2 separate regions of the Homo sapiens genome follow, and region 1 is linked to region 2. The links are contacts of gene promoters, found by promoter capture Hi-C in human tissues and cell types (Jung and others, 2019). All regions are on one chromosome and are shown on one strand. The core of a region is centred on a gene start or on the middle of the fragment in contact, and the rest is flanking DNA. Distances in the headings are between cores, read along the strand shown.

Region 1 (5,712 bases), core at 2,875-5,374, 260 kb after region 2:
GGGGCTCAGGAAACCTATAGGTGGCACCTCGCACAAGAAGGGGCAGAAGAAAAGCCGGGGCCTCCGGGGGTCTCATTAATCATTAATTCATTTGAAGGAGCAGCCTGACTTTGTCCTTTGTCCTTGCTCTCTGCCCCATGAAGTGTGACAAGGAACTGGGGGCAGCTGCCCAGGAGAGGGCGACCCTGGCTTGCGGCTGGGGTGTCAGTGGGTGCCGGGCGCACCCTCTCCCTGCTTATGCTCACAGGACCCATTCAGCACCGGTTCCCACTGGCGGCAGCTGGTCCCTCTTCCCTCCATCCACCCCTCTAAAGCCCAAAGCCCAGATGACGGCAGTGCCTGAATGGTTAATGCCCTGCTGGGCTGGGCCTCAGGTGAGGCTCCCAGGTCATGGGCACCCAAGCACTGCAGGCAAAGTGTAGAGCCAGGCAGGGCCAGGGGAGTGTCAGGACCTCATCAGGACCCGGCCAGAGGGGCTGGGCTCACAGCTCTGCGGGGTGCTGGTGGTTCTCCAGGGTCAAAGGTCTCCTTGGGGAGTGGGCTCCCCACAGCTCTGAGGCTGGCAGACCCCTCTGGAGGGGGGCAAGCCCCGTCAGCTGGAGCGAGTGGCCCAGGCTGCTTCTCCCAGCACCCTCTTGGCACTGCCCACCAGCTGTCTCTGCCTTTTGCCCCCTCTGTTCCCCACAGCCCTCCCCCAGAGGCCTGCAGCCTGGAAGGCCATAGCACAGGCCTCTTGTTCCCCTCCAAGAGGCCTATGCCTCCACAGCTGTGGGTCGCCAGGGCAGGGTGGGAGAGGACAGATCGAGATGACCATCCCTATGACACCTGTGTGTGCCCACTCACTGCCCCCTCACCTGCAGGAACCCCCCGGTGCAGCCCGCTAGGAAGATGTGCATGTAGCTGGGCGGCTGGGCCCGCCGCTCCTGGTGGGAGGTGGCCGTGAGCACCAGCAGGGTGTTGCTATAGACCCCAAACAGGACAGAGTTGACCACAGCTATGCTGGCAATGGGGAAGCTCATTCCCTTGAAGAAGCCCAGGAGCTGCAGAGAGACACAGTGGCAGCGGAGTAGGCACCGTGGGGCCTCCCCTTTGTCCTCTCCACCCCTGGCAAGGCAGCCTCTGGCTGGAAACTGCTCCCAAGTCCTGCCACAGGGAAGTGGGGACAGGCAGGGATGGGCTGAGGCTGCGCCTCTGGGGTGCTAAGCTACCACCCAGGCCCCCCAAGGATCCCAGACTTGGTCTTCTCTCCTCCAGGAGCAGAACCCTGCTGGAGAGGGAAGCTGGTACCAACAGCCCCAGATGCCTCCCCGAAAGGGGAAGGACCCCAAAGGAGTGGGCCACTCACGGACTCATGGCGGTAAATCTTGACCATGCAATCAACGATGCCCCGGTAGGTGGTCTGGGTCTGCAGCCTCACCTGGGTGGGAGGACAGAGCAGGTAGGGTGGCGGGATGGGCAGGTGGGCCAACCTTTCCCTCTGCCCCCTCAAGCGGGATGCCAACCAGCAGGAGAGGCAGGAAAGGCAAGATTAGCCAGGCCTGATCTCAGGGCACCCTGACATTTGGGTCAGGTGAGATCTTTCATTCCTCTGGCAGCTCTCCTAAACTCACCTTTACAGTGTCAAACGGGTGTCCCAGGACCAAGCCCAGAGCGCCTGTGGTGACAAGAGGGTGCTATGAGTGAGGGCCCTCGTGCCAGGCCCAGGAAGCAAGTCTGTGCCAAGAGGAAAGAGGGGTTCAGGCAGGAGGAAGGAGAGCAGGGCCATCTCAGACACATGCAGCCACCTTCCTGCCAAGCTCTAGAGACTCCAGCTGCCCCTGCCACCCCCTCCACACAGGCACTGGGCCAGGAAGGCACTGGGACAAGGGACTAAGACCCCAGGCCCCACCTGAGGATGCACACCCAAGAGGGAAGAGCCAGCCAAAGACGTACGTGTCCTCGCTGGAGCCCATACCCGGGTATCCCACCGCCTATGAGCCGCGGGACTCTGGGAGAATCACCCAGGTTCCCACCTCTCCGAGAGCTTTACTCTTCTTTCTTCAACTCATAATGTCGTCGCCGGGATCCAGAGCAGGCCCTGCTGCCAGCTGGCCACGCAGAACTGCAGGGCCCTGATGGGGGTCATGCCTGGGCACCTGCAGAGGAGCTTCTCCCCTCCCCTCCACCTGCCCACTGCCTAGCCCTGCCCTCCACAGCAGAGGCTGGTTCTGGAGTTTGGGGGAGGTCGCACCCCCAGGAGGCAGGTTCAGAACGTCCCTCTCTTTCTCCTAAGAGGAATGCCACCCAGAAGCTGGGCTGGGACCACAGCACAACAGGCCTCAGGGCCCGGGACTGCGGCCCACAGCCAGGTGGGGCAGAGGCCCAGAGGGGACTCAGGACAGCAGGTGAGGTCAAAGGTGAACTTCCTTTGTAAGCCCAACAGGGTGGGCCTGGAGAGCAGGGCTCAAGGTATAGGGTGCTCACCTGGCTCTCCCGCCCTCTGCAGGTGTCAGGCAGAGTGGCCTTGGAAGGCAGAGGCAGCACCCTCCCACCTGTGCCTTCCTCTCTTCTTCCCATCGGCCACTCCCCAGAGGACTGGGGACAGCTGGCTCTGGGGTGCTCCACGGAACCCAGACTTTTTTTTTTTGACACAGGGTCTTGCTGGTGTTGTCCAGGCTGGAGTGCAGTGGCATGATCATGGCTCATTGCAGCTTCAACCTCCTGAGCTTAAGGGCTCCTTCCACCTCAGCCTCTGGAGTAGTTGGGACCACAGGCGTGCGCCACCGCGCCTGGCTAATTTTTGTATTTTTAGTAGAGACGGGGTTTCACCATGTTGGCCAGCCTGGTCTCGAAATCTTGACCTCATGATCCACCTACCTCAGCCTCCCAAAGTGCTGGGCTTACAGGCATGAGCCACCGCGCCCAGCCTCTCATTTCTTATAAAGACAGGGTCTTCCTATGTTGCCCAGGCTGGTCTCAAACTCCTGGCCCCAAGTGATCCTCCTACCTCAGCCTCGCAAAGTGCTGGGATTACAGGTGTGAGCCACCATGCCCTGATTCTTTTTTTTTTTTTTTTTTTTTTTTTGTGGCAGGGTCTCATTCTGTCACCCAGGCTGGAGTGCAGTGGTGCAGTCATAGCTCACTGCAGCCTTGAACTCCTGAGCTCAAGCAATCCTCCTAAGTAGCTGGGACTACAGGTGTGAGCCACCATGCCCAGCTAATTATTTTGATTTTTTTGTAGAGACAGGGGCCTCCCTATGTTGCCCAGACTGGTCTCAAACTCCTGGGCTCAAGTGATCCTCCCGCCAGGCCGGAACTCAGACTTTGGTCTCTGCTCCTCCCATGTCACCCATCTTCCCGAGGAAGTGACCTACCATTGGGTGTGATGTGACAGAAGGAAGAAAAATGTCTCACCAGAGATCCAGCCAGCCACAAATTCCTCCACCGGCATTGTCTGGGCTTGCGGGAACTGGTGGCTCCAGCAGAGGAGACAGAGTTGAATTCCCCCCTCTCCCTCCCCTGGCCCACGCTGATAACCTCCCACTAATGTTTAACCCTGGCGGGAAGGTGAGAATTGGCCTGGTGCCCAGACCTCCGGCAACTGGCAGAGGAGAGCGAGCCAGTTCCGGTGACCCTGGCCACCTGGAGGAGTCGTGCAGAGTACAGTCTCACGGGCCAGGCGTGCCGGGACCACAGAGGCCCTGATCCCCGAGCCCGGCCAATGATCCTCGCTCTGAGGATGGCAACTGGGTTCCTGCCCCATGGTCGGGCCCCTCCAGGGCTGCCTTAGTCAGCAAGAGGCAAGCCCCTGCCTGCCCAGCCAGCCCAGCTCCACTCCCATTCATCTCCACCAAGGGGCATGGCCGCCCCCATGCCACAGAGAGAGGCCGGGTGCGGAGGTAGCGTGGCCACCAGGGGGTAGGCCCAGCCCGCATTTGCCGCTGCGTGGCAGGGTGGGGAGGAGCCACTCCCAGGAGTGACTCACCAGGCCTGGCTGTTCTCTTCAGGGTTGTTTACGACTCCCCCGACTCCCCCGTGTGAGTCAGAAACACAGCCTTCCTCGGCTTCCTCCTTCCCAGGGGAAAGATAGGGGTTTTGATTATTTAAAGTGCGTGTTGATCTGCAATGGCACCATTCTGCTCAGTCAAAACCAAAACCCTTTCAAGGATCTGTGAGCCACAGGGTGCCGCCCATTCTCCTCTGACCTCACGTCCTGCCACCCACCCCCTTGCTTTCTCTGCTGCAGCCACCCGAGCCTCCAGACTCTTCTTCAGTCAGCCTTCTGTCTCCAGGCCTGTGGACTGGCTCTTCCCTCTTCCTGGGCACTCTTGCCCTGGCACCCCTCCAGCTGGGGCTCAAATGTCACCACCTGGGTGAGGTCTGCCCCGCCTCCCCAGCCGGAGGCACTGCTGGCTCTTCCTCTCTTTCTCCATCACAGTTATCACGCCAACATACGATGGGAAGAACTTGTCTGTCTGGACAGGGATCTCTGGGTGTTCTGTGCACAGCGGGTGGCACAGGGTGGGCTCTCAATAAATCCTGAGTGACTGAATGAACGGAAATGTCAGCCAGCAGCATCAGCGGCAGCCTGGGGCTCCAGTTCCCTCTTCCCATCACCAAACGGCCCTGGGAAACATCAAGGCCCAGTGACACCTGCACCCTCCCCTCCAGATCTCCCCGCAGCTCCTAGTCTCCCATGGGGGACGCCCAAGGCCCAGTCCTTCTCTCCCTTCTCCTCTCACTGTGGCCAAGGCAGAACCCACCCACCCCTGCTGCTTTCTCCCGGGTGGACAGATTCGGGAAACAGGACCTCCTACCTCCTGCCTCTGGAGCTGCCTGGGGCTCCTTGGGCCACCCCCAAAGATCATCCTAAAAGACCATCCCCAAAGACTGGCCTCTCGTGGTGGCTTGGGCTGCAGTCCTGGTTCTGCTTCTTATTCCTGAAACTGCCTTTGCAAAAACTATAACTGATACAGGCCAGGCGCAGTGGCTCACGCCTGTAATCCCAGCACTTTGGGAGGCCGAGGCGGAAGGACCACCTGAGGTCAGGAGTTCGAGACCAGCCTGACCAACATAGTGAAACCCCATCTCTACCAAAAATACAAAAATTAGCCGGGTGTGATGACGGGCGCCTGTAGTCCCAGCTACTTGGGATGCTGAGGCAGGAGAATCGCTTGAACCCGAGAGGCAGCTGTTGCAGTGAGCCAAGATCATGCCACTATACTCCAGCCTGGGCAACAGAGCGAGACTCCGTCTCAAAAAAAAAAAACAAACAAACAAACAAAAAAAAAACCCTCCTGTCTCTCGTACAGCCAGCTCTGCATGAATTAAACTCTCCTTATTGCAATTCCCCTGTCTTGACAAATTGGCTCTGTCTAGGCAGAGGGTAAGGTGAACCCAATGGGCGGTTACATTATCTCTCTCAGTGATGTTGAGCAACCTCTTCTGTGGGCCTTGGGGTCTATTATTGTTTGCCAAAGTAGGACAGCAGTCGGGCTAATTGATGTCTAAGCCTCTCAGCTCTAAAGGCTGGAGGCCGCCTCCTCCCTCACTTCAGAATGGGTCTCATTCTCTTTTCCAATCTCACCGCCTCACCCCAGTTTGAGAAAGACCCTCATTCCCACTTCCCTACAGCCTTGCTGAAGGGAAGCCCACCTAAGCATGGCGTCATCTTGTGAATCTCTAGCTCACAACCTCCAAAATGTTCTTACTGTCTAACACGCCTGCCCCATA
Region 2 (5,913 bases), core at 2,720-5,219:
TACGGTGGGTCACGCCGGTAATCCCAGCATTTTGGGAGGCCGAGGCGGGCAGATGACCTGAGGTCAGGAGTTTGAGACCAGCCTGACCAACATGGAGAAACCCCGTCTCTACTAAGAATACAAAATTAGCCGGGCGTGGGGGACGGGTGCTTGTAGTCCCAGCTACTCCTGAGGCTGAGGCAGGGGAATCGCTTGAACCCGGGAGGTGGAGGCTGCAGTTAGCCGAGATCGCGCCACCGCTCTCCAGCCTGCGAGCCTGGGCCACAGAGAGAAACTCCACCTCAAAAAGATAAATAGAAAGCAGCATTTAAGAAATATCTGAGCTCCTATGATTTTTTTCCTCCAAAACTGCCTCTTCTTTTCATTAAGTATCTTCTCATTAAATACCACTATTCATCCATCTTATTAAGTGCAGGCCCCATTCTAGGTGCCAAGAACACAATGCACATCAAAGGGAGCCGGGGGTCCCTGTTCTAATAGAGCTCACTCTTGTGGTGGAGTGGGGGGTGTGATGAACCAAACTGTGAGTGTTCTTTGCATCCCTGCTACTACTGGTGGTCTAAGCTTCCTGACCCCTCATGTGGATGACAACACATTAAGTGTTTTTCCTAACTTTCTTGCCAGCCCTCCAGAAAAACCTGCCAGAGAAATTAGATCACAAGTCAGATGAGATCCATCTGTTACTCAAAACCCTTCTGCGACCCTCCATTGCACTTGGACTCAAACCCAAACTCCTCTCTATGGCTGACAAGGCCTTGCAGGATCTGCCCGCCCCCAGCCCTAGACATCACCTCTTCCCCATCTTCACACAGTCCTCTAGGCTTGAAATATTCCCCTACCTGATCACTTGACTGGTTCATCTCAGGTCTCACTCACGTCATTTAAACAGGACCTCTCGGCTGGGCACAGCGGCTGACACCTGTAATCTCAGCACTTTGGGAGGCCAAGGTGGGCGGATCACTTGAGCCCAGTTCAAGACCAGCCTGGGCAACATAGCAAAACCCTGTCTCTACAAAAAAGTACAAAAAATTAGCCAGGTGTGGCGGTGCATGCCTGTAGTCCTCAGCTACTTTGGAGGCTGAGTAGGATCACCTGGGCCCAGGAGTTGGCGGCTGCAGTGAGCCATGATTGTGCAACTGCACTCCAGCCTGGATGAGAGAGACCTTGTCTCAAAAACAAAAAAGAAAAGGCCGGGCACTGTGGCTCATGGCTGTAATCCCAGTACTTTGGGAGGCCGAGGTGGGCGATCACGAGGTCAAGAGATCGAGACCATCCTGGCCAACATGGGGAAACCCCATGTCTACTAAAAATACAAAAATTAGCTGGGCGTGGTGGCACATGCCTGTAGTCCCAGCTACTCAGGGGGCTGAGGCAGGAGAATGGCGTGAACCCGGGAGGCTGAGGTTGCAGTGAGCTCGGATTGTGCCACTGCACTCCAGCCTGGCGACAGTGCGAGACTCTGTCTCAATAAAATAAAATAAAGAAAAAAGAAAAACAAAAAAAGAGGCCCTCTCTGGGATGCTATTGTATCTGTCCACATCCTCCCCCTTTCTAAACTGCTGGAAGGCAGAAACCATGTCTTTAACACCACAGAGACAAAAATAGCCAAGATTCACACACTCACTGTAAGCCAGATGTTGATTTACATCCTTTAACCCTCACAGCAGCCCTGGAGATGGCAGAGATTAAATTAGTAGTTAGTTCAAAGGCCAGCCACCCAGTAAATGGAGTAGGAAGAAAAAGAAGGTCCAAACTCAGGCAGTCAAAGTCCACAGCCCAAGGGCTTTACCCTGTTGGATGCTATTTCTCAAGAACTGGCAGGTCCAGAAACTTTAGCTGAATGAGTAAGTGGGGTTCAGAAGTGCTGGGAGGCTCAGTTGCCAGAAGAGAACCCTGAATCAGCCCCAGAGGTAACCCAACTTTTGGGAACACTGAAACCTCACTATATCCAATCACAGATGTGATTAGGTTACCAAGTCCGGCCAGGCAGTCACAGAGGTACAAACGAGGCCATGCTCCCAACATAATATTTACTTCTAAAACCAAGGCAGACCAGATTCCTGCCCTGGACTCTAAGGCCACAGCTGGTACCAAGTTCAGGGAACGGCCAGGTTCACCTTCTATACAAACCTCTTCCCCCACCCATCCCTTCTATTGCTGCCTCCATAACAAACCTCTCACCACAGTGATTCCTGCTACCTTCTCTGTTTAGAAGATGAAAAAGAATGACCTGGGGGGACTGATCAAGTTACTTAGGATAGGGAATAACCCCAATTTTACATCTGAAGCCCCCCAGGATCTGTAGCTGTTTCTTCACAGGAAATTTCTCTTGTAGTTTACCATTTCTTCCCCCCATACCAAAGGCTTCTGCCTTTTCTGCCTCACTGTTCTCCTAGGGGACATACCACCAACCCGAGAAGCACACCTCTCCCTGAGGCCTTGCAAGTAAAGATGAAACAATGCGATGACTGAACTAAGTGGCTTTTTTATTAGAGAAAGCCAGAATTACAAAAGACTTAAGAGTTGGCATTGGGGCCCTTCTTCTTGCCAAAGGTGGGCACAACGTTGACAAAGCGCCGGTTGTACTGCATCCGCCGCTTAGCCCGACCTGTCTTCTTCTTCTTCTTCTCCTGTTTGGCCACCTGGAGAAGGGAAGGTTAATCAGGCCCTGGTTCCTGTCTTCCACACCTAGCATCCCTTCCCTCAGGCTCATCTCCAGGGAGGGAGAAGGCAAACCGAGTAAGAGCCCAGGGACTTGGTTTAGCTGTGAAAGGAAAAAAAGTCCTAACACCATGACCACTAATACTCTCACTCACCTTAGGAGTCTGACCTCTCACTTTTCCAGCACGGGCCAGGGAACCATGGACTTTACCTGTAGTGGGAAAGGAAGGCACCAGCAGGTAAGAGCAAGAAGGTGCCACCCAGCAGAACCCCTCTTTTCTCAATTCAAGCCTTTAAAGAGAAGCTGCGCCCAATAGGTAATGAGAACAAAGTTGCAGATATTTGACCTTGAAATCTTAAGTTTCATTTCAGGATCTTCCAGCTTCTAATTTTATAGAGCACTTTGGGGGCCCTGGTCTGACCTAATTTTAGTGTGGAAGCTGATAACCAGACTAGGATCTCGTGATGTGACTGAAATACAACTACACTCTGGCTCAGTCTCCCATGGACGTCTGTGTTCAACATGAGGGATGTAAACAGGAAGAATCACTCTGAACTGAAGACAGTGAGAAGTACTCTATTACCATAGGTGTGACACTCAGCTGTCAGGACTATGCACCCCACACTCACTAGACGCTTACCGGTACTTCAAAGAACATTCCTCTCTCACTCACCTCCAAGCATGCGGCCTGCTACTTCCAGGGTAGTCAGGGCCTCCACCCCGCACTGGCCCAGAGTGGCCTCATCCTCCAGGGGCGCGCCTGCCAGGAGCACGACTTGATCTTCCGGGGCAATGCCCTCCAGTGAGGCTACATGAGCCTACAGGGAAAGATAAGGCTCGTAAGCGTTCCCTCGGGCCGCGAGAGTGAAGAGCACAAGAAAATGGAACCCAGGGCGCACCAAGCAGCCTTACCTTGATCTGGGCGACCGTTTCCTGGCCGGTCACCTCGAAGGTGTGTAGCTCCTGGGCGCGGACAAAGAGCTGCATATTGGCGACTGAGTAAAGAAAAGACGGCTTGTAAGAGAAGCCAAGAAATGCTCTGGGATAAAGGAGATTTGGGAGTGGAAAGCGGTCCAGAAACGATCGCGACGGGATGGTGGTCGCGGCGGCTCACGTGGGGAAGGCCAGGCCTCCCAAGGAGTTCGGATAGGGACTGGAGCAGGGCCACGGAGCAGGCCCCGTTCTTCGGTTCCCCCCGCGCCTTCTGACCCCGCAGCCAACCTGCTACAAGCCCTTCGGATCCAGCCAAGGCCCCATTCTTACCTGAACGGCGGTCCCAGCTACCGCGAAGATGGAGTCGAGAAAGAGGAAGAAGCGAGGGCGCGTCAGTACAGACCGTGGGCTGCGTGTCACGTCACTGCTGAGCGACCGCGCGGTTCCCTGCTATTTGTACCGCCCAAGGCAGTCCTAGCTCCGCCCCTTTACGCTCGCACCGGCGAACCTGCCTGGGCAGGCAGCTCGCGCAGGACGGGGCGGGACCAGACAGTTGCGCGCACAGAAGGCTGGCGTAGCAGGTAAAGATGGCAGCTACCATGTTCCGGGCTACGCTGCGGGGATGGAGAACCGGTGTCCAGCGGGGCTGCGGGCTACGGCTGTTGGTGAGAGCGCTGAGCGAGGAGCTGAGGGCATCGCGTGGGTGTGAGGCTCAGTGTTAATCATTGTTAACCCCGAAAACTAAGGCATTCCTACTTGGGGCCTTAGTTTTGCCGTTTTCGATCAGGAGAACTTGTCCCGAGTGTACATATAGAATCGAGAGGGAAAATGGTAGACTGGGGTGCTCTTTGGGAGCACTTAACACAGTGCCTGGCAGTGTCTATATAAGCCACAACGTTTCAGGTAAGGGGCGGGGTCCTAGCATATGAGTGTGCGTGGGGAATTATGATTGCCTTAATTCTTTTTTTTTTTTTTTTTGAGACGGAGTCTCGCTCTGTCGCCCAGGCTGGAGGGCAGTGGCGCGATCTCGGCCCACTGCAAGCTCCGCCTCCCAGATTCACGCCATCCTCCTGCCTCAGCCTCCCGAGTAGCTGGGACTACAGGCTCCCGCCACCATGCCCGGCTAATTTTTTGTATTTTTAGTAGAGACGGGGTTTCACCTTGTTAGCCAGGATGGACTGGATCTTCTGACCTCGTGATCCGCCCGCCTCGGCCTCCCAAAGTGCTGGGATTACAGGCATGAGCCGCCGAACCCGTCTGATTGCCTTAATTCTTAAGGCAATCATAAGATTAAACATCACTATATCCCGTCACAGATGTGATTAGGTTAGCAAGGCCAGCCAGGCAATCATGGAGGTACAAACAAGGCCACGCTGCCAATATAATAATATCTATTTCTAAAACCGAGACAGAAAGTTAAGCCTTAAGTTTCTAAAGGCTTGATTGACTTTTCAGAAGTGTACATATACTCTTTTGCATCCCACAGAAATCCTGAGAGGCAGACCATTCAGAGTACCTGAGCCTCCTTTCCATCCCATCTGTACCCTGCACCATGGAAAACCAAAGACTGGTGCTATCTTATGTCAACCTAAATAACAGACTCTAAAAGAAAAGGATATTTATTCGGGAATGGGTATAGACTATGTGCTTATCAGGGAGGTAAAAGAAGACAAAGGTTTTTAACAGAAAAATGGGCCAGGCACGGTGGCTCACGCCTGTAATCCCAGCACTTTGGGAGGCCAAGGCGCGTAGATCACCTGGAGTCAGGAGTTTGAGACAAGCCTGGCCAACATGGTGAAACCCGTCTCTAGAAAAAATACAAAAATTAGCCGGGTGTGATGGCGTGTGCCTGTAGTCCCAGCTACTTGGGAGGCTGAGGTAGGAGACTTGCTTGAACTTGGGAGGCGGAGGTTGCAGTGAGCCGAGATCACACCACTGCACTCCAGCCTAGGTGACAGAGTGAGACTCTATCTAAAAAAATAATAAAAATAAATAAAGGAAAGGAAAAATGAGTATTACATAATTGTTTTGAGACAGTTATCCTTGGCTACAAGGATGAATAACATGGGTGGTGCCAGTTCAAGATTGGACAGGCAGTTGTTGGACAGATGGCCATGCAGGAATTTGTTTTGTTTTGTTTTGTTTGAGAGAGTCTCGTCGCTCTGTCACCGAGGCTGGAGTGCAATGGTGCGATCTTAGCTCACTGCAACCTCCACCTCCTGGGTTCAAGCAATTCTCCTGCCTCAGCCTCCCAAGTAGCTGGGATTACAGGCATGCACCACCATGCCCGGCTAATTTTTGTATTTTCAGTAGAGATG

What was found. The method cuts DNA at HindIII sites, captures the fragments that hold promoters and counts their contacts. A contact is called where the count stands out against the background at its distance.
Region 1: the fragment with the promoter of SLC25A45 here is called in contact with the fragment with the promoter of FAU in region 2 in 1 of the 25 tissues and cell types used here (dorsolateral prefrontal cortex).

The regions. Positions count from the first base shown.
Region 1 is chr11:65,378,522-65,384,233 of GRCh38, forward strand. SLC25A45 (solute carrier family 25 member 45) reads right to left here and starts at 4,125. Exons shown (of 7, transcript NM_182556.4): 1 at 3,965-4,125; 2 at 3,394-3,448; 3 at 1,611-1,654; 4 at 1,346-1,417; 5 at 855-1,040. The coding sequence starts at 3,430. It also overlaps a transcript of FRMD8 not described here. RefSeq lists enhancers at 3,234-3,762, 3,311-3,440, 3,428-4,627, 3,571-3,850, 3,763-4,290 and 4 more and a silencer at 5,257-5,551. The HindIII fragment of the contact is 21,887 bases long and covers 1-5,712 here.
Region 2 is chr11:65,118,165-65,124,077 of GRCh38, forward strand. It overlaps FAU (FAU ubiquitin like and ribosomal protein S30 fusion), which reads right to left and starts at 3,970. Exons shown (of 5, transcript NM_001997.5): 1 at 3,926-3,970; 2 at 3,575-3,657; 3 at 3,336-3,480; 4 at 2,817-2,872; 5 at 2,466-2,642. The coding sequence starts at 3,649. The coding sequence ends at 2,517. MRPL49 (mitochondrial ribosomal protein L49) reads left to right here and starts at 4,157. Exons shown (of 4, transcript NM_004927.4): 1 at 4,157-4,260. The coding sequence starts at 4,183. RefSeq lists enhancers at 3,928-4,017, 4,178-4,447. The HindIII fragment of the contact is 8,684 bases long and covers 3,542-5,913 here.